Regions from separate parts of the Homo sapiens genome. Here regions 1, 2, 3, 4, 5 and 7 are each linked to region 6. Evidence: promoter capture Hi-C in 16 types of primary human blood cells and fetal thymus (Javierre and others, 2016). All regions are on one chromosome and are shown on one strand. Each heading gives the region's core, a stretch centred on a gene start or on the middle of the fragment in contact. The rest is flanking DNA. Distances are from core to core; before and after follow the strand shown.

Region 1 (3,401 bases), core at 614-3,113, 1.9 Mb after region 6:
GAGGCAGGAGAATCGCTTGAACTTGGGAGGCAGAGGTTGCAGTGAGCCAAGATTGCACTACCACACTCCAGCCTGCTCAACAGACCGAGACCCTGTCTCAAAAAAAAAAAAAAAAAAAAAAAAAAAAAAAAAGTCCGGGCACGGTGGCTCAAGCCTGTAATCCCAGCACTTTGGGAGGCCAAGGTGGGCGGATCATGAGGTCAGGAGATCGAGACCATCCTGGCTAACATGGTGAAACCCAGCCTCTACTAAAAATACAAAAAAATTAGCTGGGTGTGGTGGCAGGCGCCTGCAGTCCCAGTTACTGGGGAGGCTGAGGCAGGAGAATGGCGTGAACCCGGGAGGCGGAGCTTGCAGTGAGCCGAGATCGCGCCACTGCACTCCAGCCTGGGCGACAGAGCAAGACTCCGTCTCAAAAAAAAGAAAAAAAAAAAGGGTAGCATAGGAATCACTCACATGACAAACCCTAAAGGTTGGCCAGAGTTAGCCCGCATCATGAGTGAGGGCAGGACAGCCCAGCAGAGACCACTAGACACCAGAATAGAAAGAGACACTGGGAGATGAGAAGCATGTGGGAGTCAAACAGGGACAGGTTACAGGGAACATCCTTTCCCCTATAACTTCTTTCCTTTTTCCTTCATATTCCATCCATTCTTTAAGTCTCAGCTCATGCCCAATTTCTTCTCTGAAATTTTTCCTGATTGACTTCAACCCACTATGATCTATCTTCTAATTACTCTTAAGAGTAATCAACTGTGTTTTTACTCATTTAGAATTATACTAGGCCATATTACTAGCTTCTCATGTGCATGTATCTTCTCTGCCTTATTAAATGGAAAATTCATCCTCCAACAAGTATAAATAGAGGCTGAGTCAGGTGCCAGATGCTGAGGATACCACAGTGAATAGGACAGACATATAGTCCTGTAGGTGGAAGAGATGGATGTAACCTAAGTACACAGAGAAACTCCACTGTGACAAATTGTGGCAAGAATTAAGAAGAAAACAAACGAAGAACTGAGATGATTCCATTTAAACAGAGAAAGAAGATGAGCAACTCTATAAGAGTGGGGCCAACCCTTGAACTTCTCGATAACCACTCTCCCCACACCCATGGTCTAATTCACTGTCTTCACACTTTTCTTGCTAACTGTGCTCATGTTGTCAGTTTTCATTTAAATTTGGTGAAATCTCAAATAAGAGAGTATTTGCACTTGCATTTTCTCCCACAGGCACTCTGTACATGTCCATAGAGACACTGATTGCTATTATTATTATTTTTTGAGACAGGGTATCACTCTATGGCCCAGGCTGGAGTGCAGTGGCACGATCACAGCTCACTGCAGTCTCAACCTCCTGGGCTTAAAGCAATCCTCCCACTTCAGCCTCCTGAGTTAGCTGGGATCACCGGTGCACATCACCATGCCTAGCCAATTGTTTTAACTTTTTGTAGGGATGAGGTCTCACTAAGTTGCCTAGGCTTATCTTGAACTCCCGGGCTCAAGCCTCTCAGCCTCCCAAAATGCTGAGATTTCAGGCGTGAGCCACCACGCCTGGCCTGATTAATTTTAATTTTAATTTTCTTTTTCTTTTTTTTTTTTTTTTTTTGTGATAGAGTCTCACTCTGTCACCCAGGCTGGAGTGCAGTGGCGCCATCTCGGCTCACTGCAACCTCCGCCTCGCGAGTTCAACAGATTCTCCTGCCTCAGCCTCCCGAGTAGTTGGCACTATAGGTGCAGGCCACCATGCCTGGCTAATTTTTGTATTTTTAGTAGAGACAGGGTTTCACCATATTGACCAGGCTGGTCTCAAACTCCTGACCTCAAGTGAACCACCCGCCTCGGCCTCCCAAAGTACTGGGATTACAGGTGTGAGCCACTGCATCCGGCACCTAATTAATGTTTAAAAGAAGCTACTTGAAGATTAATGAGCATCCCAGACTTAATGTGCCAAAAATCAAGTTCCTGATCTTCATCCCAAATTTGTTCTCCTCTCCATCTTCTTAGTCTCCAGTAACTAATGTATCTGATTTTGTTGCTGTTTGTTTGATTTACTGCAGTATTCCCAGCACCTAAAATGTGCCTGGAACAAAGCAGGAACCCAGCACTTGTACATCAAATGAATGGATGAATGAACAAAGCCATATTTCATTGCCCTCAGCTTCGTTTTTTTATGTTGCATTAAAGACCCACTAGAGGGCTGTACATCACTGCATAATAAACGAGGAGCTGGCGCCTGCGCGGCAGCACTACTCCGCCTGTCCCTACAGGAAATCCCCAGATTTGCATGTGTAGAATTTAAAATCAGACAAGACATTTGTGTATAAGTCTTATCTCCACAATTACTTGAAGCAATTTGAAGTCAGGGATTATGGCAATTCTTTCGAGTGATTAAAAAAGATTTCTAGAAAGAAAAAAGGAGAGATTCTTTGTTTATAACAATCAGAAGCTAAGAGATGCTTTTAAAAAAAAGATGCATGACATACTATATGCTCAACAAATAACCACGTTCTAGAACAAAGAATGAGGTGTTAGGCAGACTGTTCTTAACAGCCACATACCACGTGAGATAAACAGGACAAGATGTAGACTGAGAGACAGCTTCAGCTAAATGGCAGGCAGCTGGAGGATATGATGAGAAGAAAGTTATCTTTGAAACCAAACAGTGTTTAGTTAAGAGCTCCATCACATTTTAAAAGGCAATAGTTTTGAATTTATACCCAAGGGTACAAATTAGGGAAAAACATTTCTTTTCAATATAAGGATAAACTTTCAGACAAAGACAGACATTCATAATTTTCCATGTTTTTTCCTGTTACTTGTAAATTCAGGATATTTGTTATCTCTAAGAATATTCATCACCTAAATGTGATAAGACAAATGTTAAAACTAATTATGGACGGTGAGGCCTGCTAGAGTCTGAATGCTTGTGACCTCCCTAAATTCGTATGTTGAAACCTAACCCCCAAGGTAATGGTATTAAGAGGTGGAGCCTCTGGGGGAGTGATTAGTGCCCTTATATTAATACAAAAGGCCCCAGGGAGTTTGTTTGCCATGTGTTTGCCCTACCATGATGTGAGGACACATAGAGCATGCCATCTATGAGAAACGGGCTCTCATCAGACACTGAATCTGCTGGCACGTTGACCTTGGACTTTCCAGCCTCCAGAACTGCAAGCGATAAGTTTCTGTTATTCATAAATTACCCAGTCTAAAGTATTTTATTATAGCAGCCTGAACCACCTTGCACAGGACCATAATGTGTTTCTAAGGGACTTAGGAGGTTTTAGAGGACACGCCTACCTTTTCCATCGGGGGCAGCACAGTGATGGTAGGAGCAGTGAGCTTGAGCTCCAGGTTCCCAGGCTCTTCTAGTTCTGTCTTCTTTGTGTGTTTGTTGGT
Region 2 (3,519 bases), core at 391-2,890, 2.0 Mb before region 6:
ATGATGTGACTTAACATTTCACGGATTGTTTTCGCTGCGGGGAGGACTACAGCCTCTAAGGGGCAATAAAGAAGCAGATGAGAGAGGATGGTGGCTTGGACCAAGGTGGTGGCAGCGGAAGTAGTTCTGATAGATGAAATTTTGGATATATTTTACAGGTAGAGTCAACAAGACTTACTGATGAACTGGATGAAGGACAGATGAGAAAGAGGGAAATCAAGCATGACCAGAGGTGTTTTCGATAAGCAACTGGAAGAACAGCATTCCCATAAATGGGATGGGGAGACTGCAGGAAGAACATATTGGGGAGGGAAACCAGGAGTTCCATTTTGGACACGTTTAGTGAAATATCTGTTAATATCAAAGCTGAAATACTAAACAGGCAGATGGAGACACAGGTCTACAGTTCAGAAGAGAGTTTGGGCTGCAGACAAATGATTAAGGGTCAACAGCATATAGACTTTTTAACTTTCCATTATAGAAAATTTCTGGGCTGGGCGCGGTGGCTCACGCCTGTAATCCCAGCACTCTGGGAGGCCAAGGTGGGTGGATCACGAGGTCAGGAGATCGAGACCATCCTGGCTAACACGGTGAAACTCCGTCTCTATTAAAAATACAAAAAAATTAGCTGGGCGTGGTGGCAGGCACCTGTAGTCCCAGCTACTCGGGAGGCTGAGGCAGGAGAATGGCGTGAACCCGGGAGGCGGAGCCTGCAGTGAACCAAGATTGTGCCACCGCACTCCAGCCTGGGCGACAGAACGAGACTCCTCAAAAAAAAAAAAAAAAAAAAAAAAAGAAAGACAATTTCTAACATAAGTAAAATGAGAGAGAACCGTATAATAAACCCCCAGGTACCCATCACCCAGCTTCAACAATGATCAGCTCATGGTCAATCTTATTGATCTCCCAGGATTACACTGAAGCAAACTCTGGAGATCACTCATATAGATGGTATTAAAAGCCATACAACAGGAGAGGATCACAGACAGAATGAGAGAAGATAGAGAGGAGGTGCCCAGGGCCTTTAATGTTTAGAGGTCAGGGAGATGAGAAGCCGAGAAGGAATGGCCAATTAGGCAGATGGAAAGCCAGAAATACACACCCTGGAAGCCAAGTGAAGAAACAGCGTCAAGGAAAAGGGTATGATCAGCGGTGCCAAACTGAAGAGCTCCTGTGAGGAAGATGAAGAAGTGACCACTAGAGTCAGGATCATGGGAGTTACCATGGACCTTGCCAGGAGCACTTTCATCAGAGTGGTGTGAGTCAAGAGAGGATGTGAACACAGCAAGGACTGAAAATATGGAGGGACAGATGATGGGGCAGTAGCTGGGAGAGGTGACCAAAGAAGACTTTTTGAAGATGAGAAAGCCTTTGGAAACGATCGAGCAGGGGGAAAAAGTGGTGATGCAAGGAGGAGGGGACAGGCTGGGGCAATGTCGAATATGTGAGAGTAACTGAAATTTAGGGCAAAGTAGAAGGCTGCCCTCGGACAGAACCATGAAGAGTTCATTTAGGAAGAAGGTAGGGAATACAATATATCCTAGCCATTTGAAGTCTTTTGTTTTGTGTTTTATAATACTATAATGTATTTTAGCACAGCACTACTTTTTATAAATTATAAATACACACACAAACAAGGGGAATTGCTCAAAAGTTTTAACTGATATGGGCACACAATCAAAACGATTAAAGACCACTTAACTGAAAGAAAACAAAACATATCATCAGAGGCTGAACATGCCTTCAGTGACAAGGAGATATGTATCATAAGGATACTAGGTTTTATATCTGAAAATATACTTTTATTAACTAAGATTTTTTTAAAGGCTCAGACACTATAATCCAGTAACTACAATACAGTTGCATTTGAACTGAAAATGCAAAAATATAAGAAGAATCATGGACCATTCTCAAAATCAGAGCATCACAGGAGTCAGAGTCTGATTATTTACTTACATAAAGAAATGTAAATCAGTTAAAAGTTTTATCAGCAAGACAGGCCTGAATTGTATCATCATATTTAGCTACTGAGGCAGACTGGCTAACCAATACACAACGAACAGCAAATCAAGAAAGTGGGCCTGTCATCTGAAAGGCTGGCAGGTAGCCTAACTGGAACAGGCAAAAGCCCCAAACCAACCTGAAGTCCACAAAGCCACAGAAACATCCAATTTGCTCAAACATATTAGCAACACTTGGCTTTTGCCAAGCCCTGTAACAATTCAGAGCCCCCCTCTTTAAACGTGTTCATTTAGCCTCTCCACAATCCACCAATTCAGGAAGCTCTCCATTTTAACTTTCAGAGCTATCCACACTCAAGCCCAAAAGTGTTACATGGATACACACAAGGCCCAAGCAGCACCACAGTTAGAATGCCGGGTCGTGTGGCTATGAGACACAGGCCTGCCACAGAAGCCATGCCTGGCTTCTTGAACATTCTAGGCGCACCTTTGTCAACCACATAAAATGACAGCATGAGAGCATGAACACCAAGCTATAAAAACGTGGCAGGTCTGCCTGCACAGAAGTGACGGTTGTGGTCACACTGCTCAGCTGGGGTGAACGCACGGGGAAAACTGCCAAGCAGCAGCTCTCCTGTGGTCAAACTGTAAGCTCCAGGAGTTGGGCCCTGTCTGTCCTTTTCACAGGTGTAGGCCCAGTGTCCAGTACAGCTCCTGAAACAGAGCAGGCTCCCAAGAAACATCTACTGAAGGAAGGGAAAAATGACTAGCTACATTAAACCATAAAGGCAAGAGGGATCATGAAAAAATGCTCAAAATCATAAAAATCATCTAACAAAACTCAGGAAGCTGTTGATGGCAGCTGACTGGGAAGAATCGTGGGTAGCTAAGTAAATCTAAAAGGTAGAATTGCAAAACATAAATTCTTTTAAGAATGACCATAATCTTTATTAACAGAGCCTTGAAGATTTGTCATCAACTAAATGAAACATGAGGATCTTGTTTGGAGCCTGACTCAAACCAACTGGCTGTTTTCAAAAAAAAAAAAAAAAAAGAAAGAAAGAAAGAAATTGAGACATCGAAGGAAAGTTAAACACCATTTGGATATTTGGATGACAGGAGATATTTAGGGATGACTGTGCTTTTTCAAGGTGTAATAATACCACTAGGGTTAAGTTTTTAAAAGGTATTATCATTTAGAGATATATTAAAAAGTATTTATAGATAAAATAATACAGGATCTAGGTCTTGCTGTAAAATAATCCAAGAAGGGAGTAAGAAAAAGGTGGGTGAAGGTATAAAAGAAATGAGAAAAGCCATGTGTTGATTACAAGTCGAAAAACTGGGGGATGGGAACATTGAGGTGTATTACGCTAACTCTATCTTTGTGTACCTGTGAAAATTTCCATTGACAAATTTGAAAAAAAAAAAAAAGACTAACCATAATGTCAAACCATAGTTAATTTCCTCGCATTTGCCGCACTGTTGGAAAATAACTGAGAGGCATTTTTAGTCATACATGGACACAGTGGTTTCTGAGGAGACCAGCAGAACAGAG
Region 3 (3,925 bases), core at 1,197-3,696, 1.5 Mb after region 6:
GTGAGGCCATGAAAGACAACCCTTTGTTTTATTGCACTTTCTCTATTTCAGAATCATGAGGAAAACTTGTGTCCTGAATACCCAGTATTTTGTCCCAACAATTGTGCGAAGATTATTCTAAAAACTGAGGTAACTGCAAATAATCCTCTCTGTAGATTTTATGGAAGATAACGTTTTAGTAATCATTGTGGTCTGTGTTTGATACAGTCCCAAAGATAAGGGCCCAGGGCTTAAATTACACGCATGACCATGACGTATCTGTCTTCCCTTCTCTTTTTCCTGCGAACTCTCTTCAACTTTCATCATAGCTCTTTCTTGCCAGGCCTCTCTCCTTCTCCTGGTCCTTGCCTTCTTCCCAAGCCACTCTTGGCTCCCTGATTGCTGCAGTTGGAGAATAAGTGATGAATTTCTATAGCTTGTGACTATCCATTTCGTAGGTAGATGAACACCTGGCTGTATGTCCTGAAGCTGAGCAAGACTGTCCTTTTAAGCACTATGGCTGTGCTGTAACGGTATGGAATGACTTTTTGTTTCTGCCTATACATTCTACTGTATAATTCACTTGGCAAGTTCAGTTTACTCTCTGTTCCATCGAGGATGGAGAAAGACATACAGTTCTGAGAAATTTAAGGCTAATTATTTTAGAGTTCTCCAGAGAAACAGAACCAATGGGATATATACATATATAGAGAGATTTATTTTAAGAAGTTGGCTCTTGCAGTTGTGGGGGCTAGCAAGTCCAAAATCTGCAGGGCAGCTCAGCAATCTGGAAACTCTGGCTGGAGTTTCTATGCTGCAGTCTTGAGGAGAAGCATTTTTTTCTTCAGGAAACCTTAGTGTTTGCTCTGAAGGCCTTCAAATGATTGGATGAGGCCCACCACACTATGGAGGGTAATCTGCTTACTTCAAGTCTACCAATTGTTTTCATCACATCTGCAAAATACCTTCACAGCAACATATAGACTTGTTTTGAGCAAACAATTGGGCACCATAGCCTAGCCAGGTTGACACATAAAATTAACCATCACAATAATTATTCGGGTTTTTTTTTTTTTTTTTTTTTTTTGAGACAGAGTCTTGCTCTGTCACAGGCTGGAGTGCAGTGGCATGATCTCGGCTCAATGCAACCTCTGCATCCTGGGTTCAAGCAATTCTCCTGCCTCGGCCTCCTGAGTAGCTGGGATTTCAGGCACCCGCCATCATGCCTGGCTAATTTTTGTATTTTTAGTAGAGACAGGGTTTCACCATGTTGGCCAGGCTGGTCTTGAACTTCAGACCTCAGGCGATGCGCCTGCCTCGGCCTCCCAAAGTGCTGGGATTACAGCACCGTGCCTGGCCCACAGTAATTATTTCTAATTTTGATTCCATTGCCTCCACCTGGTTTGGGAACCTTCTGGGGTTACTCCTCTCATGATTACAAATCCTGGTTTTATGGTGATATACTCTTGTATATCACCAAGTATACTGAAACAAAATGGACTTAAAATCGTGTTTTAATATGTATGTTATTACCTTTTAAATACTTTAAAATAATAATGAATTACACAAAATAAAAATAAAATTTGATTTCTACTTCAGTCTTTTTAATAGATTCCAGGTGGAGCAAAGTTTTAGGCATTAAAATATGTCATGCTCTGTATTATTCTGTATTTTCTGTAAATCTAAAATTATTCCAAAATAAGAAGTTAACTTCAGAAATCATGAAAATACTAGAAGGAAAAATGAGTGAATTTTTTTATTCTTAAAGAGGCTGGTGCGATGGCTTATGCCTGTAATCCCAGCATTTTGGGAGGCTGAGGTGGGTGGATCATTTGAAGTCAGGAGTTCGAGAGCAGCCTGGCCAACATGGTGAAACCCCGCCTCTACTAAAAATACAAAAGTTAGCTGGGTGTGGTGGTGCACGCCTGTAATCCCAGCTACTTGGGAGGCTGAGGTATGAGAATCCCTTGAACCCGGGAGGCCAAGGTTGCAGTGAGCCAAGGTCGCGCCACTGCACTCCAGCCTGGGCAATAGAGTGAGACTGTCTCAAAATAAACAAACGAAAAAACCCCCCCAACAACAACAAAAGCCCTTTCTTAAATGACTAACACAAAACCAGAAGCCATAATTTTGATAAATTTGTAAATATTTAAAACTTCTGTATGATTTTAAAAAATACCATAAAGTCAAATAGCAAACAGTGAACTGGAGGGAAAAGTTTGCAACATATGATCAGACAAAAAAAAGGGGGGGGCTATTTTCCTTAATATACAAAGAAACCTTACATGTTAATAACCTACTCAACTTAATGGAAAAATAGGCAAAGAAATATAGTATATGGGCAGTTCCAGAAAAAAATTCATTTGGCTGATAAATGTAAGAAAAGATGCTCAGTTTCACTCCTAAATAAATATACATTATAACAAGAAATATACTTTAATATCATCAAATTGACAAAGATTAAAACATCTTATGATATCTCACTTTTTTTAGGGCAATTTGGTTATCTCTATGAAAATAAAAAATGAATCCACACATTGACCCTGCATTTCTGCTAGGATTTATGTTACAGATATCCTTTCTTAAGTTATACAGTGATTTCACATACACAAAGACACACAAAGATGTTTATTCTACTATTGTTTGTATAGCAAAAAAACCCCACAACCCAAAGCTAAAAACAACCTGTAAGTCTATCATTAAAACACCAACTATATAATTATGTATTCATATTTTAGAATACTATGTAGCTGATAAAAATGAGATATATGTAAAAAATTAAATATAGTATGTTCTCATTTGTGTTAAAAATGTGTATATCCTTACTGACACTCTGGTAAAACTAGGAAAGTGGGTGTGGAGATGGACAGAAGAGGCCTTTTACTTTTTATTCTTCATCTTATGTTGTTTGACATAAGCACATATTTCTTTTATTTTAAAAACCATTTGAAAAAATGTATATTCTGAGAAGGATTTAAAAAAAAATCAGCGAAGAGTCTATAAATTTGTCACATATCAAACCAGAGGTTGTCTTGGCTGCAAAAAGAATAGGGTTTACCTTTCTTGTGCATGAGCACAATTGTCCAGCTTGGGCAACATATTGAAACCCTGTCTCTACCAAAAAATACAAAAATCAGCCAGGTGTGGTGGCGCACCCTGTAGTCCCAGCTCCTTGGGAGGCTGAGGTGGGAGAATCCCTTGAGCCAGGGAGGCAGAGATTGCAGTGAGCCAAGGTCATGCCATTGTACTCCAGCCTGGGCAACAGAGTGAGACCCTGTCTCAAAAAAAAAAAAAAAAAAAAAAGCAGAATTGCTTTCTAGCTCTAAAAATGATCTTTACAGTCAGGCCCAAATCTCCAGTTGGTTTGTATTCTAGAACTTGCCTCAGCACCAGAGCTTGGGATGGCTGGGGGAGTTATTCTCCGGAACCTTATTTAGGACAGCCTGTCACCAAAGAAGCCAACCCTAACCCGAATGAAAATTGATGATAAATATTTAGTTAAACTGCATGGATCACCTTGAACACCTAACAAACATTTGCTTTTACTGTAATATAGGCAGTCTACAAAAAAAAATATTTTAATGATTAGGGAAAAAGCAACCATTTCTTCTTGCAAATGTAGTCTATGGTTTTGAGGGCAACAAATTTGTATGGGCTGAAATTAAAATCAGGTGGCATTCCTCCTGCCCATGGCAGCCAGTCCGTGATTGGAGGCAGCATGGAAATGTGCTTGACAGGAGGAAGAACTAGCGTTGACTTAAAACTGATTTGAAGAGGCCAGGCGCTGTGGCTCATGCCTGTAATCCCAGCACTTTGGGAGGCCAAGGCAGGTAGATCATGAGGTCAGGAGTTCGAGACCAGCCTGAGCAATATGGTGAAACCCCCGTCTCTACTAAAAATACAAAAATTAGCCAGGCATGGTGGCATGTGCCTGTAATCCCAGCTA
Region 4 (3,834 bases), core at 1,136-3,635, 1.6 Mb after region 6:
ACAGGCTGGGCACAGTGGCTCGCGCCTGTAATCCCAGCACTTTGGGAGGCTGAGGAGGGTGGATCACAAGGTCAGGAGTTCGAGACCAGCCTGGCCAACAGGTGAAACCTCGTCTCTACTAAAAATACAAAAATTAGCCGGGCGTGGTGGCGGGCACCTGTAGTCCCAGCTACTCGGGAGGCTGAGGCAGGAGAATTGCTTGAACCTGGGAGGCAGAGGTTGCAGTGAGCTGAGATCATGCCACTGCACTCCAGCCTGGGTGACAGAGTGAGACTCCATCTCCAAAAAAAAAAAAAAAAAAAAGTGAGCAAGATGAAGAAGGAAACATGCCTAACTCTGGCTACCAGTGGGGACCGCCAGTGTTTGTGGAAGTTGCAGTTTTGGTGTCAATGGTGGCAGCAGCAATGGATTCTCACTAGATCGTCTAGTGTGTTTGGGTACCGTTGTTTCCATATTTGGCCTCTGGCTCTCCTAGAGATTCTGTGAGCTACATGATTTTTTAAAAGTCCTTTTCTTTCTCAACCAGAGTGGATTCCGTTGCTTGTAACTAACTGCCTGACCTAATCAAGCTGAGATCTGAAAGATGAGTCAGTCGTGGGAAGAGCTGTCAGGGTGGATCAGTAATCTGAGCAGAGGGCACTGAAGAGTGTTGGCTCAAGGAACTGAGAAGAGGATAGTGTGGTGGGAATTTGGTAGAAATCAGGAGAATGATAGTTGATGAGGTTAGAGAGGGAGGCACAGGGTTTAGAACCTGAGGGCTCAGGCCATGGTGAGAAGTTTATGGTTTATGTAAAGTATAATGAAAGTTAACATATGATGGGCAGAGGATGCATGATCTGATTAATGTTTTGCCTCTTAATGTGGAGCACAGATTAGAAGGGGGACAAGAGAGAACATGGGAAGAGTATTAAGGTTAAATCGTATTGAAATTGCATTTCATGTCTGTTCCCTTATGAGACCACTGAAGCCGAGAACCATGTCTAATTCAAAAGTGCACAGCAGGTGCTCAGTGTATTAAAATGAATGAATACACTAATGCACTGAATTTTTGTAACAACTCTGATAGGCAAGTCTTCTGCCCATTCCATAGATGAAAAATCTGGTAAAGAGATCCAAGCATTAGGCACTGTCCTAAGAATGTTACATATATTAACATATTAATCTTAGAACAACCTCATGAGGTATATGCTGTATTATCCCCACTTTACAGATGAAACAACTGAGGCACAGAGAGTTTATGTAATAAGCTCTAGGTTACTCAGCTAATAAGTGGTAGTGCTAGGATCTGAATCCAGGCAGTCTGGCCTCACAGGCTCCACTCTTAACCACTACACAGACTGCCTCATATGGATACTGATGAATTCTAAACACACACACACACATATATATAAAGATACACCTTTAAATGAGTTAGAAGAGTAACTACTATTCATAGAATAAAAATCAAATATAACTTTCAAACCACTAAAGCGGGAAAAAAACTGGAAAAAAAGACTGTCAAACCAAAGGCAGTAAAGAGAACAGGAAGCATGATACATAGAAAAAAATGAGTGAGATATATCTATGAATAAGTTAAGTGTTAGTATTAACAGGGAGAAATCTCAAATGAGGGGGACATGTACATGCTTTTAAAAAACATACCGAAAACAAAATAGAGTTAATAACTGCATTAGCTTTATAGTCAGAGAAACTCTTGCACACGTGTACCAGGAAACATGTACAAGAAAATTTACTGTCAGCAGTTGGTAACAGCAAAAAAAAAACCAAACAACAAAACAAAAAAACTGGGGCAAAAAAATAACCTGTGTTGGCATGGAATGGAGCAACAGCAGCTCTCCTACATTGCTGATGGAGGGTAAGTTAGTACAACCACTGGAGAACAATTTGGCAATATCAAAGTTGAACTGTGCAAACCCTTCCACCTTGCAATTCCATTTCTAGACATTATCCTAAGGAAATTCTTACCATATGTCTAAGAAGCTGTGTGCAAGAACTAACTCATGTTATAATGACAGAAATCAGGAATCATGAAATTGCTAGCAACTGGAGAATGGATAAATGGTGGTACAATTATACAATGGAATACTATTCAGCAGTTAAAATAAAACTAGAACTACAGGAATCATCCTGGATAAATTTTACATACATAATTATAGGTGGCAAAAGTAAGTGACATGCATATCATTTATATTAGGTTTAAAAAGCATAAAACAGTACTTTATGCTACTTAACATCGCTACATGTATTTGGAGCATACATAAAAGCTTTCATGGGAATGACAGATACCAAATTCAATGAAGTAGTTAATTTCAGAGAGGAAGAGAGGGAGAATGAGATTGCAGGCAGTTTCACAAGGAGCTCTAACTGAATGTTAAAATCTGAAGCAAATAAGAGAAAATGTTAAAATGGGATAAAGCTAGATGGTTGGTATACAAGTGTTCATTATATTATTTTCTGTAACTGTACATTCTGGTAATATTTCATATTAAACATTTTAAAGGAAAGTTAAGCTTCCAAGATTCTATAAAAAGAACAAAATAAACCCAAAGAGATAAGAAGAAATTAATGAAGGCATACATTAATGAAAGAGAAATTACTTTTAAGACAGATTTTATCTATAAAACCAAAAGCTGGTTTGATAAATATGATCAAGAAAAAGACTCCAATACAATATATAAGAATATATATATAAGAATATATAAGAATGGTTGAGAACAATATGAGATTTTTTTAAATGTTAGAAAATATAGCTGAAATACTTTTTTTTTAAAGATGGAGTCTCGCTCTGTCCCCCAGGCTGGAGTGCAGTAGCAAAATCTCAGCTCACTGCAAGCTCCGCCTCCCGGGTTCAAGCCATTCTCCTGCTTCAGCCTCCTGAGTAGCTGGGACTACAGGCGCCCGCCACCATGCCCGGCTAATTTTTCATTGTCGTATTTTTAGTAGAGACGGAGTTTCACCGTGTTAGCCAGGATGGTCTCGATCTCCTGACCTCGTGATCCGCCCTCCTCGGCCTCCCAATGTGCTGGGATCACAGGCGTGAGTCACCGCACCCGGCCAATACTTTTCTAGAAAAAACTAATTTTCTCAAGAAGCAAAAGAAAAAATTCTAGGTATCAATAACGATGGACGCTATATAAAAAACAAAACTATCCATTAAGATGGCACCACACCCAGAAGGCTTTAAAGATGAGTTCTTCAAAACCTAAGAAATGTATCATTCACACATGCTATGTCTATTCCAGGTCATACAAAAATAAGTTAACCTGTCTGACTCCTAGCACAACCTGATACCAAAACTAGACAAGGACAGCAAAAGAAAACCATAAGCCAATCTAACTTAGGTGCATACATGAAAATCCAAAATTAACTACACAGCAAATTGCATCCAGCAATATATTGAAAAAATAAGATACCAGGATTCTAAGTTTGGCTCACCATTAGAAAATCTATTATTGTAGTTATTTTATTGTAGAGTAATGGAAAAAAGGCCATACAATCATCTCAAAGACTGATACTGAAAATACTTGGTAAAACTTAGTCATTTGCTGATTAAAAAAAAAACCGATATGGTAAACTACGAAAAGAACATAATTTGCCTATACACCCACACACACACACACCATAAACCTGCAGAAGATATCTTGAATGAAACCTAAGATGCAATCCAAAATAACTCCTGGTAAGAAATAAGTACCTCCGGCTACTATTCAGTGTTGCACTGGATTCTTGGGAAAAGCCAAAATTGTTCTTTACAGATAAATTCTTACCTACAAATCAAAGAGGACTGCCTGTCAAATTTTTAGAATACGAACGTTTAGTGAAGTGTCCAGATAG
Region 5 (3,934 bases), core at 25-2,524, 1.7 Mb after region 6:
AACAATCTTCCTAACAGATCAGAGGAGTTCCTGGCTACCTTGTGCTATAGTGATCATTGTATCAAAGGTTATGAACCTCAGAAGTCAAAACTTCAGAGTTTCAATTTGACTATCAAGGCATGGAATCACAGTTCCTGGACTTAAAGATGGAACTGATGTTCATACAAAACACAAATATCTATGTAAAAAGAGGGGACTAGATGTAGTGTCTGGTTCCTGTGGGAGACACTGAAAGAGGACCCGCTGGGTTAGCCATCTATGGTTTCTGGCATGGCAATACTGCCTCTCTAGGACACATTTGAAACAGTTGGGGTGTCTTGATAATGGGGAGGGAAAAACGATAGCTACAGGCATTCATGTGGAAGTAAGCCAGAGTTGTTAAACTCAATGCATGGGACATTTCTGCACTGATGAATGGTCTCACGCAAATGCTAACAGCACCCCTGTTGAAAAGTGGATGGTCTTCTCCCTTTGACTCCTCATCCACATTTACCTCAATCACCTCTGCCCCCCAAAGATGCACTGTTTTCAGTGTAACCCTAAAGATATTTAAGCCAGCCAGACAATATTATGTGAAAACAGTACTAGTTTGTAAAGAATGGTACTTGTCCACAAGGCTGGATTAAAACCAAGAGAGGCCCTAAATCCTTTAAAAAATTGGAATTTCTCTCCCTTATGTAATTAAAAATAAATGGTACTAAACCATAATTTAAGAAGGTCTAATTTAGGTAAGAAAGTTCTGATTTCTGACTATTTTGTTGTTTTTTTTAATAAATATTAAATGCTCTGAAAATTATTTTATGTACTTATTGATTTATTAGACAAAGTCTTGCTCTGTCACCCAGGCTGGAGTGCGGTGGCACAATCTCAGCTCACTGAAACCTCCACCTCCCAGTTCAAGGGATCCTCTTGCCTCAGCCTCCTGAGTAGTTGGGATTACAGGTGCCTACCACCATGCCCGGCTCACTTTTGTATAAAAATTACTTTTCTTATTTCTTTTAATGCCCCTCCTTTGCTAGTACTCAGTGCCTATGCTTTGTCTATTGCTGCTCATTGGATGAAAATTAGAAAGAACTCTTCATTCTGAATTTACTTAAGTGGGTTGTTGAAAAGTCCAAAGTTGTGGGAATGCAAGTGACTTGCAGAGGACTAGATCTTTTGCTGAGTTCCAGTTCTGGCTCCATCACTGACTATATGACTTGGGGTAAGGTGCTTTAATATCTGTTTGTCTGTAAAATAAAGGGAATAAAGGAATACACCTAATGGGTTGTAAGGATACATGAAAGCATATGTGCCCTGATATGTAGTAAGTGCTCAGTAATAAGTGATCAGAAGTGCCCAGTATATTTGCGAAACCTCATCTCTATAAAAAAAAAAAAAATACTAAAATTAGCCAGGCATGTTGGCGGGTACCTGTAGTCCCAGCTACTCAGGAGACTGAGGTGGGAGGATCGCTTGCACCCAGGAGGCAGAGATTGCAGTGAGCCAAGATCCCGCCACTGCACTCCACCCTGGGCGACAGAGTCAGACCCTCTCTCAAAAAAAATAAAAATTAAAAAAAAAGTTAGTACTCAGTGTATCTTATCTATTAATAGTGTAACTACTGTATATCTTTTTCCATTCCTGCCATTCCTAAATATTCCAGACAACTTTAAATACCTGCAATGTGCTGGTCCCTGTGCTATATCCTTAGGAAATAAATATGGAAAAGACATAGTCTTGACCGAATAGAGTTTATAATCTAGAAGTGAAACTGGTTTTAAAATAAGAACAAAGTGCCACAAATTACTTGTTTTAAAAGAAAAAAGGCTGAGCTGGGTGTGGTGGCTCACGCCTGAAATCCTAGCACTTTGGGAGGCTGTAGGGGGTGGATCATCTGAGCTCAGGAGTTCGAGACCAGCCTGGGCAACATGGTGAAACCCTGTCTCTACTAAAAATACAAAAAATTAGCTGGGCGTAGTGGCGCGAACCTGTAGTCCAGCTACTTGGGAGGCTGAGGCAGGAGAATCCCTTGAACCCAGGAGGCGGAGGTTGCAGTGAGCTGAGATGGCGCCACTGCAGTCCAGCAGGTCGACAGAGCAAAACTCAACAACAAAAAAGGCTGAATAGAGTAGTGGGGGGGAAAATGATGGTCAATTCTGAAGGCTCAGAATTGTCTATGAAATTTATTTAAAAGCAATGTTACTTGACTTTTTAAATTATTTTTATCCAATTCAAGGAACAGCTTTCATCTAAATGTGCAATGCATAGTACATGAAATTTCAGGGAATATTGTCATATAATCTTTTGAAAGACCATATTGCCTGGGAAGATAATTGTTTTCTGAACCCTGAACAATAGACACATCGAGATAAGAAAAAAGTTTGGCCAATGGCAATCATAAGATACCACTGATTGTACTATGCATTCTGATTTCAGAAATGCTAAAATATAAGAAGAATGTGTGTGTGGAATCAATTGAAATGTAGTATATGTACATGTGGACATGTGTATTTGACTTTTAGCATTGAATTATCTGGTAAACTGATTTGTCTTCCTGTCTCACTTTGCCTACATGTCATTCCAAATATGTAGAGTACCTTTCCCACTTTCTTATTTATCTACTCAAAAAATTATTGATAGTGAAATTGGTAGTGTCGTCCTTTCCTATGAAACCAAATTTAAACTAGTTGTCATGGCACTTTTAACCTTTATAATCTCTTTATACCTCTCAACCCCTTAACTTTTTAACCTTTTTTTTTTTTTGAGACTGGGTTGGGCTCTGTCACCCAGGTTGGAGTACAGTGGCACTATCTCGGATCACTGCAAACTCCATCTCCCCAGCTCTAGTGATCCTCCCACCTCAGCCTCCTGAGTAGCTGGGACTACAGGCATGCTAATTTACCACACCTGCCTAATTTTTGTATTTTTAGTAGAGATGGGGTTTCCCCATGTTGGCCAGGCTTGTCTCAAACTCCTGGCCTCAAGTGATCCACCTACCTCAGTCTCCCAAAGTGCTGGGATTACAGGAGTAAACCACCATGCCCAGCCCTGGCTAATTTTTGTATTATTATTTTTTTGGTAGAGACCTGGTTTTGCCATGTTGCCCAGGCTGGTCTCGAGCTCCTAAGCTCAAGTGGATCTGACCCACCTCAGCCTTCCAAAGTGTTGGGATTACAGGCATGAGCCACCCTGCCCAGACCCCCAATTCTTTATACCACTATTCCTGCTCCCTTGCCTCTCAAACCCTACTCCTTTCCACTTTAACCTACATATCCTTTCCAAATTTTTTTTTACCTCTTCTTTGGAATATCTACTGTATATAGATCAATTCCTTTATCTACTGCCATTTATTGTCAGTTGATTTTTTCAACTGTTGTCTCACAGCCCAAAATACAAGTTCTTTAATGAATTTTTTTATGAAACTACATTTGTGATAGTCCTGAGGCTCATAGAACCACAATAATATACTATTGCGTTAAGAATTTTAGATGATTTACAGGTGTAAAATATTTAATAAACCTTATTAGTAACTATGCTTATAAATAAAAAAATAGCAAGTGCCAAAAGCAGCAGGTTAACCACAACTATATAATCTATAAGCTTAATGCTTATAATAAAATTCAAAGCCACTGAGTATTTCATATTAGTGAGCCTTTGCAGTGTTACCCTTTCAATTTTTAATTGCAATTTTTGCTTACATTTTCTTCCACACCCATCTTGTAACCTAGTCACTCTGTACACTTGCAACATTTGTGTTAAACTGAAATTTCTCTTTCAATTATCTGAAATCCAACTCTCTGTGTAACTAAGCCTAGTATCGGAGGGGAGGCCATATGCACAAATGAAGTAGATATTAAAATTAGTTTATTTTTCTACTTAACTTTTAATAAATGAGAAGAAACACAGTAGTCTGTCTCATATAGAACATTTATAATACATAACAATCCATAAA
Region 6 (3,556 bases), core at 59-2,558:
AAAAGGATCTCACCATCTTTATCCTGTGGTCTCAAGCAGCCCTGCACACTTGCAAATCCCTAGAATACTGAGTCTACTTTTATATTTTTGCTTTTTCCTGTTTATTTAGGTGTTATTTAAATACATTAAAATTCACCCATTTTAACTGTACAGTTTAACTTTTCTTATGTATACAAGGTGTAACTACTAGCATGATCAAAATGTAAGATGGTTCCTTTACCTTCAAAAGCTTTTCCATCCCCTTTTGTCCGAGTTCAGTTATGAGACACTGGATTGGGTTTCACAGCCTTTTCTAGCATTGACTGGGGTGATTTCAGTAAAGTCACTTTACCTCTCTAGATGTGTTTCTGCTGTTGTTAAATGGGGAATGCTGGAACAGATTTGTTTGCGGGGACTCTTCCAATACTTTCAGAAAATGCGAGAATAGGGTGAGGGTGGGAATCTCAGACTTGTGGGCCCCATGATTGATATAACACACACAGGCGGCAGACCCTAATGGGTAAAAGCATGTGGTTGCATCAGTTAAGGTTTTTCTCTCTTCTCTTGCTAGCGTGTTATCTTTTCTTTTCTTTTCTTCTTTTTTTTTTTTTTCGAGATGGAGTCTAGCTTTTGTCGCCCAGGCTGGAGTAGGCTGGAGTGCAGTGGAGTGATCTCGGCTCATTGCAACCTCCACCTCCCGGGTTCCAGCGATTCTCCTGCCTCACCTCCTGAGTAGCTGGGATTACAGGCGCCCGCTACCACGCCCGGCTGATTTTTGTACTTTTAGTAGAGACGGGGTTTCACCATGTTTGGCCATGCTGGTCTCGAACTCCTGACCTCAGGTGATCCGCCCATCTCGGCCTCCCAAAGTGTTGAGATTACAGGCGTGAGCCACCGCGCCCGGCCGCTAGCGTGTTATCTTTTCTAAGCATCAGTTTCCTTATCTGCAACACCAGGCTTATTAACAAGACCTATCTGTACACTGTTGTGGTGATGAAGTGAGATGTTCAGGCACCCTTAAATGTTGGTTGATATTTTTATTGCAGTATACTGTAAAGTCACTGCATTCGACTATCTCCGCTACTACACATTTACGCAGACTGATTTCCATAACCAAAACACAAGCACAAAGCTCATGCCCCCGACTCACGCAACCCGGGAAGCCCAGCTGCCCACGTTCTAGGGCTCTGAGAACACTAGTGAACGAACTCCCGTGCTTTCAAAGAGCTGCGGTAGGGGGCAGAACCGGGAACCGGATGTTCTAAGCCTGTCGTACGAGCGCGACGTAAAGCGGATCTGCTTTATGGCACCTTGCTTTCGCCGTAAAGCGCAGTCAGCGAGCCCACGTGCTTGTGTTGACTGGACAACTTCCTGGTGGAAAACCGCGACTCTTGCAAGTGGGCAAACTTGACGTTTTCGCTATGGGCAAACGCGGGAGCCGGAGCCAGAGCCAGCTACTCAACACCCTAACTAAAAAGCAGAAGAAACATCTTCGAGATTTCGGCGAGGAGCATCCCTTCTATGACAGGTCTGAAGGGGCGTGGCAGGGCTCCCCAGTCGCCAGAGATGTATCCTCGAGTTTGGTCCTCTGGTCTCCCAGATAGTGCTGCTCCGGCCTTTTCCCACTATTCCCTGGCTCCCGCTGTGCTCGGCCGGGGAGATTCTGGCGCCATCCCGCCGGGAGATGGAGTGCTTCACGGGCCTTTTTGTTGAGCCTGTAATTTCCTGCTAAGAGGCACGCCCGTTGTGTGGGGGAGGATTTTTTTTTTTTTTTTAAGACGGTGTTTCGCTCTGTCGCCCAGGCTGGAGTGCAATGGCGCGATCTTGGCTCACTGCAACCTCTGTCTCCTCCCGGGTTCAAGCGATGCTCCTGCCTCAGCCTCCCGTGTAGCTGGGATTACAGGCGCCCGCCACCAAGCCCGGCTGATTTTTTGTATTTTTAGTAGAGATGGGGTTTCACCATGTTGGCCAGGCTGGTCTTGAACTCCTGACCTCAGGTGATCCACCCACCTCGGCCTCCCAAAGTGCTGGGATTACAGGCGTGAGCCACCGCGCCCAGCTATGGGGGCGGATTTTTGTGTGGTCAGAGATCTAGGAATTTTTTGTAGACACACATATATATATGTATATATATAATTTTTTTTTTTTAAGACAGAGTCTCGCTTTGTCGCCCAGGCTGGAGTGCAGTGGCGCGATCTCAGCTCACTGCAACCTCCGTCTCCCGGGCTTAAGCGATTCTCCTGCCTCAGCTTCCCGTGTAGCTGGGATTACAGGCGCCCGCCATCACACCCGATCAATTTTTTGTATTTTTAGTTGAGACGGGGTTTCACCATGTTAGCTAGGGTGGTCTCGAACTACTGACCTCGGGTGATCTGCCCGCCTTGGCCTCCCAAAGTGCTGGAATTACAGGCGTGAACCACCGCGCTTGGCCTGTTTTTATAATTATTTTTAACTTACATAAAATGATTGTACATATTTGTGGGATACAGTGTGATATTTTGATAACAATACATGTACCCAATGTGTAATGATCAAATCCGGGTAATTAGCATATTCATCATCTCAAACATCAATTCTTTGCGTTGGGAACATTGAAAATCCGCTCTTCTAGCCATTTGAAAATATACAATAAATTGTTAGTTATAGTCACATCATATGTTGTGTGTGTTTTTAAAGAATTTGTTGGGACATCATTGATCTTTGCAATTACGATAAGGAACTAAGTGTATTAGTAGTTGTGGTTTCTCTAGAAATGTCTAGGTGCAGTTATGATCTCAATGCTCATCCCACTACTTTGGGCTGCTTTGTCATCAGTTAGGGACATTCTTTTTTTCTTTTCTTTTCTTTTTTCTTTTTTTTGAGGCAGGGTCTCACTTCGTTGCCCAGGTTGGAATCCAGTGCTGCAATCCTGGCTCACTGCAGCCACCACCTCCTGGGCTCAAGCGGTCCTCCTGCCTCAGCCTTCCCAGTAGCCGAGACTACAGGTGCACAACACAACTCCGGGCTAATTTTTCTTATTTTTTTGTAGAGACAGGGTCTCCGTATGTTACCCAGGTTGGTCTCAAACTCCTGGGCTCAAGTGATTCTCCCACCTTGGCCTCCTAAAGTGCTGGGATTCCAGATATGAGCCACCGCTCCCAGCTTAGAGGGACATTCTAATTAAGAAATTTGCTAGAAAAACATGAACCCCGAAATCTTTTATTTAGCCAAGTTGTATCCTTCTTTTGGATGAGAGCCTTGTGTGACTCTAGGGTTTGTCATGTGACCTCCTTAAACTTTTCATTTGTCAGTTATTAACCATATTCTTGCCAGCCCTGCCCAAGTGCATGTGTAATTTTTGCATGACTATATCTAAAATGTATTTATAATGTTATATTCTGCCTTTTTCATTTAACATCTCATTTGACCTTTTCCTAATTTCTACATACTAGTAGTTAGAATGTAACATTGCCTGTTTCTTTTTAGGGTTTCCAGAAAGGAAGCAAAGCCACAGATTTGTCAACTGGTAATGCTTTCTACCTTCTTTTTAATAGTTGGTTTTGGGTTGTTCCCACTAAGATTATATCTAATAATAAAG
Region 7 (3,387 bases), core at 716-3,215, 1.9 Mb before region 6:
AATTACAGCTTTTCTAATTTGCCCTTTGGCCTACTATAATCTGGTCTCTGCCCTCCCCCACTCTCCTGACTGCTTTCACCAAGGTTATAAATCACCTCTTTGTTGAAAATTCCAATCCTCTGCCATTCAGTAGTATTAGCCACCGTATTCCAGGCTGTCTTCCATGACATATTCTCAAGATCCCAGGCTCATGGTTCTCCTGTCTCGACATATTCCCTTCTAACTCACCTTTGAGGTTTGTCTGTGTTCGTTATCTGTTGCTGCATAACAAATTACCCCAAAATTCAGAAGCTTAGAACAACATGGATAAAATGTGGCACATATACACCATGGAATACTATGCAGCCATAAAAAATGATGAGTTCATGTCTTTTGTAGGGACATGGATGAAGCTGGAAACCATCATTCTCAGCAAACTATCGCAAGGACAAAAAACCAAACACCGCATGTTCTCACTCATAGATGGGAATTGAACAGTGAGAACACATGGACACAGGAAGGGGAACATCACACTTTGGGGACTGTTGTGGGGTGGGGGGAGGGGGGAGGGATAGCATTAGGAGATATACCTAATGCTAAATGACAAGTTACTGGGTGCAGCACACCAGCATGGCACATGCATACATATGTAACTAACCTGCACATTGTGCACGTGTACCCTAAAACTGAAAGTATAATAATAATAAAAAAAAAACATGGATTCTCTCACACAGTTTCTTGATTTTTTTTTTTTTCTGACAAAATCTTGCCCTGTTGCCCAGGCTGGAGCGCAGTGGCACAAACACAGCTCACTGCAGCCTCAACCTTCTGGGCTCAAGCAATCCTTCTGCCTCACCTCCTGTGTAGCTGGCACTACAGGCACGTGCCATCATGCCTGGCTAATTTTTTAATTTGTTGTGGAGACAGGGGTTCTCATTATTTGCCTAGGCTGGTCTCAAACTCCTGGCCTCAAGCAATCCTCCCACCTCAGCCTCCTAAAGGGTTGGGTTTACAGCATGAGCCACCATACCTGGCCTCACGCAGTTTCTTAGGGTCAGCAATCTGGAGCAATTTAGCTGGGTGGAATGGCTTACCTGAGTTGTCTCGCTTGGGATGTCTCATGAGATTGCAGTTGTACTGTTTATGTATTTATTTGTGTTTAATTTAAAACTTTTTTTTAAAGGATACTCTTCTAAGGTTTTCCAAGCTTCCTCACATGGCTGTTGGGAGGAGGTTTCAGTTCTTCCCCACATGGAACTCCCTGTAGCCTACCATGACATGATAGATGGCTTCCCCCAGAACAAGGGATCCACAAGAATGAGCATGTAGCAAGCCTAGATGAAAGCCACAATGTCTTTTATGATGTAATCTCAGGAGTGACATGCCATCACTTCCACCCCTCTTGTCTGACAGGCCAACACTGATACAGTGTGAGAGGGGCTGACTACACAAAAGCCTGCCTGTGAAGAGGTGGTGTCATGGGCCACCTTGGAAGTTGTCTACTCCAATATCCTTCTTTGCTGACCCTGAAATGTCAGTGTCCGCCAGGATTTCATCCTCACACCTCATCTCTTCTCATTCTCCACACATGCCCTTGATACTCCAGGGTCCCCCAGTACCTTCCATTACCATCTAGATTCTAAAGACACCCATGTCTGCATCTTTACCACATTTCCCTCTCAAAAACTTCAGGGTTGCACGTTGCCTGTTGGAGCCCAGAGCACCTCAAAGTCCACACACTCCATAACGAACTCATCATCCCTCCAATTCGATTTCTCCTCTTGCACTTCCCTCTTGGGAAGGACAGTGCTGTCTACTCTGTTGCCAGGCAAGGAACCAGAAAGTCACTCCCTTTCTCTCATATCTAATCAGTGATTACCAAGACTTTTTAAAGTTTTTTTTTTCTTTTCATTTTTTCCCCATCTTTTTATTTTGAAAATTGTCAAACCTACAGAAAGGGCTGGAAGAAGACTAAAATGATTCATCATTTACTAGATTGCTTTCATGTAGATTCAAAATTGCTAATATTTTGTCTCATATTTGCTTTTTCTCCCCTTTCCCTCTCTCCATATATATTTTTTTCATAATACTACTAAGATGCTATTTACCTTTTCACTCTTATTATCTCACAGATATACTGTGTATGTGTGTATGAATATGATGGACATTTGAAAGTAAATTACAGACATTATGGCCCTTCATCCCTAAAGATTCCTGTGTGCATCTCTTAGAAATAAGAACATTCTCTTACATAACCAAAATGCCATTATTACACCTAAGAACCAAATCCAGTTGATTTCATCTTTCCACTATGGTCTCCAATTTATTTATTTATTTGTTTGTTTGTTTGTTTATTATTTTTTTGAGACAGAGTCTCACTCTGTTGCCCAGACTGGAGTGCAGTGGCATGATCTCGGCTCACTGCAATCTTTACCTCCCGGGTTCAAGTGATTCTTGTGCCTCAGCCTCCTGATTAGCTGGGATTACAGGCAGGCGCCACCATGCCCGGCTACTTTTGTATTTTTAGTAGAGGCAGGGTTTCACCATTTTGGCCAGGCTGCTCTCGAACTCCTGACCTCAAGTGATCCACCTGCCTCAGCCTCCCAGAGTGCTGGGATTACAGGCGTGTGCCACTGCGCCCAGCCATATGTCTCTGGTTTAGCCACTTTTCTTCAGGCCACAGTCTTCCTACCCTTCAATAATGCAATCACCTCCTAACCCTAACTGGTTCCTTCTTCAGTCCATGCTCCACACTGAAGCCAGAGTAAGCTTTCTAAAATGCAAATCTGATATGTCACTTCTCTACTTCAGACTTTTCAATGGCTCTACATTACCTTCAAAATAAAGAATAAGCTTTACATGACACACAAAGCCTTCATCATCTAAATTCATCTACAGCAGTACACTCCAGGAGAAATAAAATGTGAACCACGTATGTCATTTTAAATGTTCTATTATCCACATTCTAAAGATTTTAATAAATATAGCTTAAATTAATTTTAAAATACATTTTATTTAACCCAATATATCAAAAATATTATCATAGCAAAAAATACTCAATATAAAAACTATTAATGAAATATCTTACATTATTTTTTTCTAAGTCCCCAAAATCTGTCATGTATTTAACATATACAGCATATCTCAATTCAAATGCTAAATTTTGAAGGGTTAAAGTGAAATGTATTCCTACCAAAACTATAAGGTCATGTTTAACAACAACAACAAAACATTTTATGAGGTTCCAGTTTTTAAATTTGAGTTTATTAAATTACATATAGCTGGAAGTCCTGTCTCTCATTTGCACTAGCCACATTACAAGTGCTCAGCAGCCACATGTACTTAGATGCTACTGAAATAGTAACATATCTAGAGCCGCGGTTCTCAAAGCATGATCCAAGGTCCTCT

Evidence for each region. Contacts are between HindIII fragments. The CHiCAGO score rates a contact against its expected background, and 5 or more counts as called.
Region 1: a contact is called between a fragment that was not itself captured here and the fragment with the promoter of UTP25 in region 6, in 4 of 17 cell types (fetal thymus, total B cells, activated CD4 T cells and 1 more). The highest score is 8.0, in fetal thymus.
Region 2: a fragment that was not itself captured here is called in contact with the fragment with the promoter of UTP25 in region 6 in 1 of 17 cell types (neutrophils); the score reaches 6.3 in neutrophils.
Region 3: a fragment that was not itself captured here is called in contact with the fragment with the promoter of UTP25 in region 6 in 1 of 17 cell types (non-activated CD4 T cells); the score reaches 5.5 in non-activated CD4 T cells.
Region 4: a fragment that was not itself captured here is called in contact with the fragment with the promoter of UTP25 in region 6 in 8 of 17 cell types (non-activated CD4 T cells, total B cells, fetal thymus and 5 more); the score reaches 11.2 in non-activated CD4 T cells.
Region 5: a contact is called between a fragment that was not itself captured here and the fragment with the promoter of UTP25 in region 6, in 1 of 17 cell types (fetal thymus). The highest score is 5.1, in fetal thymus.
Region 7: a contact is called between a fragment that was not itself captured here and the fragment with the promoter of UTP25 in region 6, in 1 of 17 cell types (neutrophils). The highest score is 6.8, in neutrophils.

The regions. Positions count from the first base shown.
Region 1 is chr1:211,678,693-211,682,093 of GRCh38, forward strand. All of the region lies in intron 2 of NEK2-DT (NEK2 divergent transcript), which reads left to right. Among named protein-coding and RNA genes, the nearest start is that of NEK2-DT, 4.6 kb to the left of the region's middle. The HindIII fragment of the contact is 4,776 bases long and covers 1-3,401 here.
Region 2 is chr1:207,859,498-207,863,016 of GRCh38, forward strand. No RefSeq gene overlaps it. Among named protein-coding and RNA genes, the nearest start is that of MIR29B2CHG, 39 kb to the left of the region's middle. The HindIII fragment of the contact is 8,351 bases long and covers 1-3,519 here.
Region 3 is chr1:211,360,651-211,364,575 of GRCh38, forward strand. TRAF5 (TNF receptor associated factor 5) reads left to right here. Exons shown (of 11, transcript NM_001033910.3): 6 at 52-129; 7 at 438-512. Among named protein-coding and RNA genes, the nearest start is that of LINC00467, 20 kb to the right of the region's middle. The HindIII fragment of the contact is 5,726 bases long and covers 1-3,925 here.
Region 4 is chr1:211,378,428-211,382,261 of GRCh38, forward strand. It overlaps LOC124904504 (a long non-coding RNA gene), which reads right to left. Exons shown (of 2, transcript XR_007066868.1): 2 at 1-3,834. Among named protein-coding and RNA genes, the nearest start is that of LINC00467, 2.4 kb to the right of the region's middle. The HindIII fragment of the contact is 246 bases long and covers 2,263-2,508 here.
Region 5 is chr1:211,567,739-211,571,672 of GRCh38, forward strand. SLC30A1 (solute carrier family 30 member 1) reads right to left here. Exons shown (of 2, transcript NM_021194.3): 2 at 3,830-3,934. Among named protein-coding and RNA genes, the nearest start is that of SLC30A1, 9.5 kb to the right of the region's middle. The HindIII fragment of the contact is 4,611 bases long and covers 1-3,580 here.
Region 6 is chr1:209,826,664-209,830,219 of GRCh38, forward strand. It overlaps UTP25 (UTP25 small subunit processome component), which reads left to right and starts at 1,309. Exons shown (of 12, transcript NM_014388.7): 1 at 1,309-1,507; 2 at 3,445-3,484. The coding sequence starts at 1,401. RefSeq lists an enhancer at 1,349-1,398. The HindIII fragment of the contact is 3,327 bases long and covers 228-3,554 here.
Region 7 is chr1:207,877,807-207,881,193 of GRCh38, forward strand. CD34 (CD34 molecule) reads right to left here. Exons shown (of 8, transcript NM_001025109.2): 8 at 3,166-3,387. Among named protein-coding and RNA genes, the nearest start is that of CD34, 32 kb to the right of the region's middle. The HindIII fragment of the contact is 1,562 bases long and covers 1,185-2,746 here.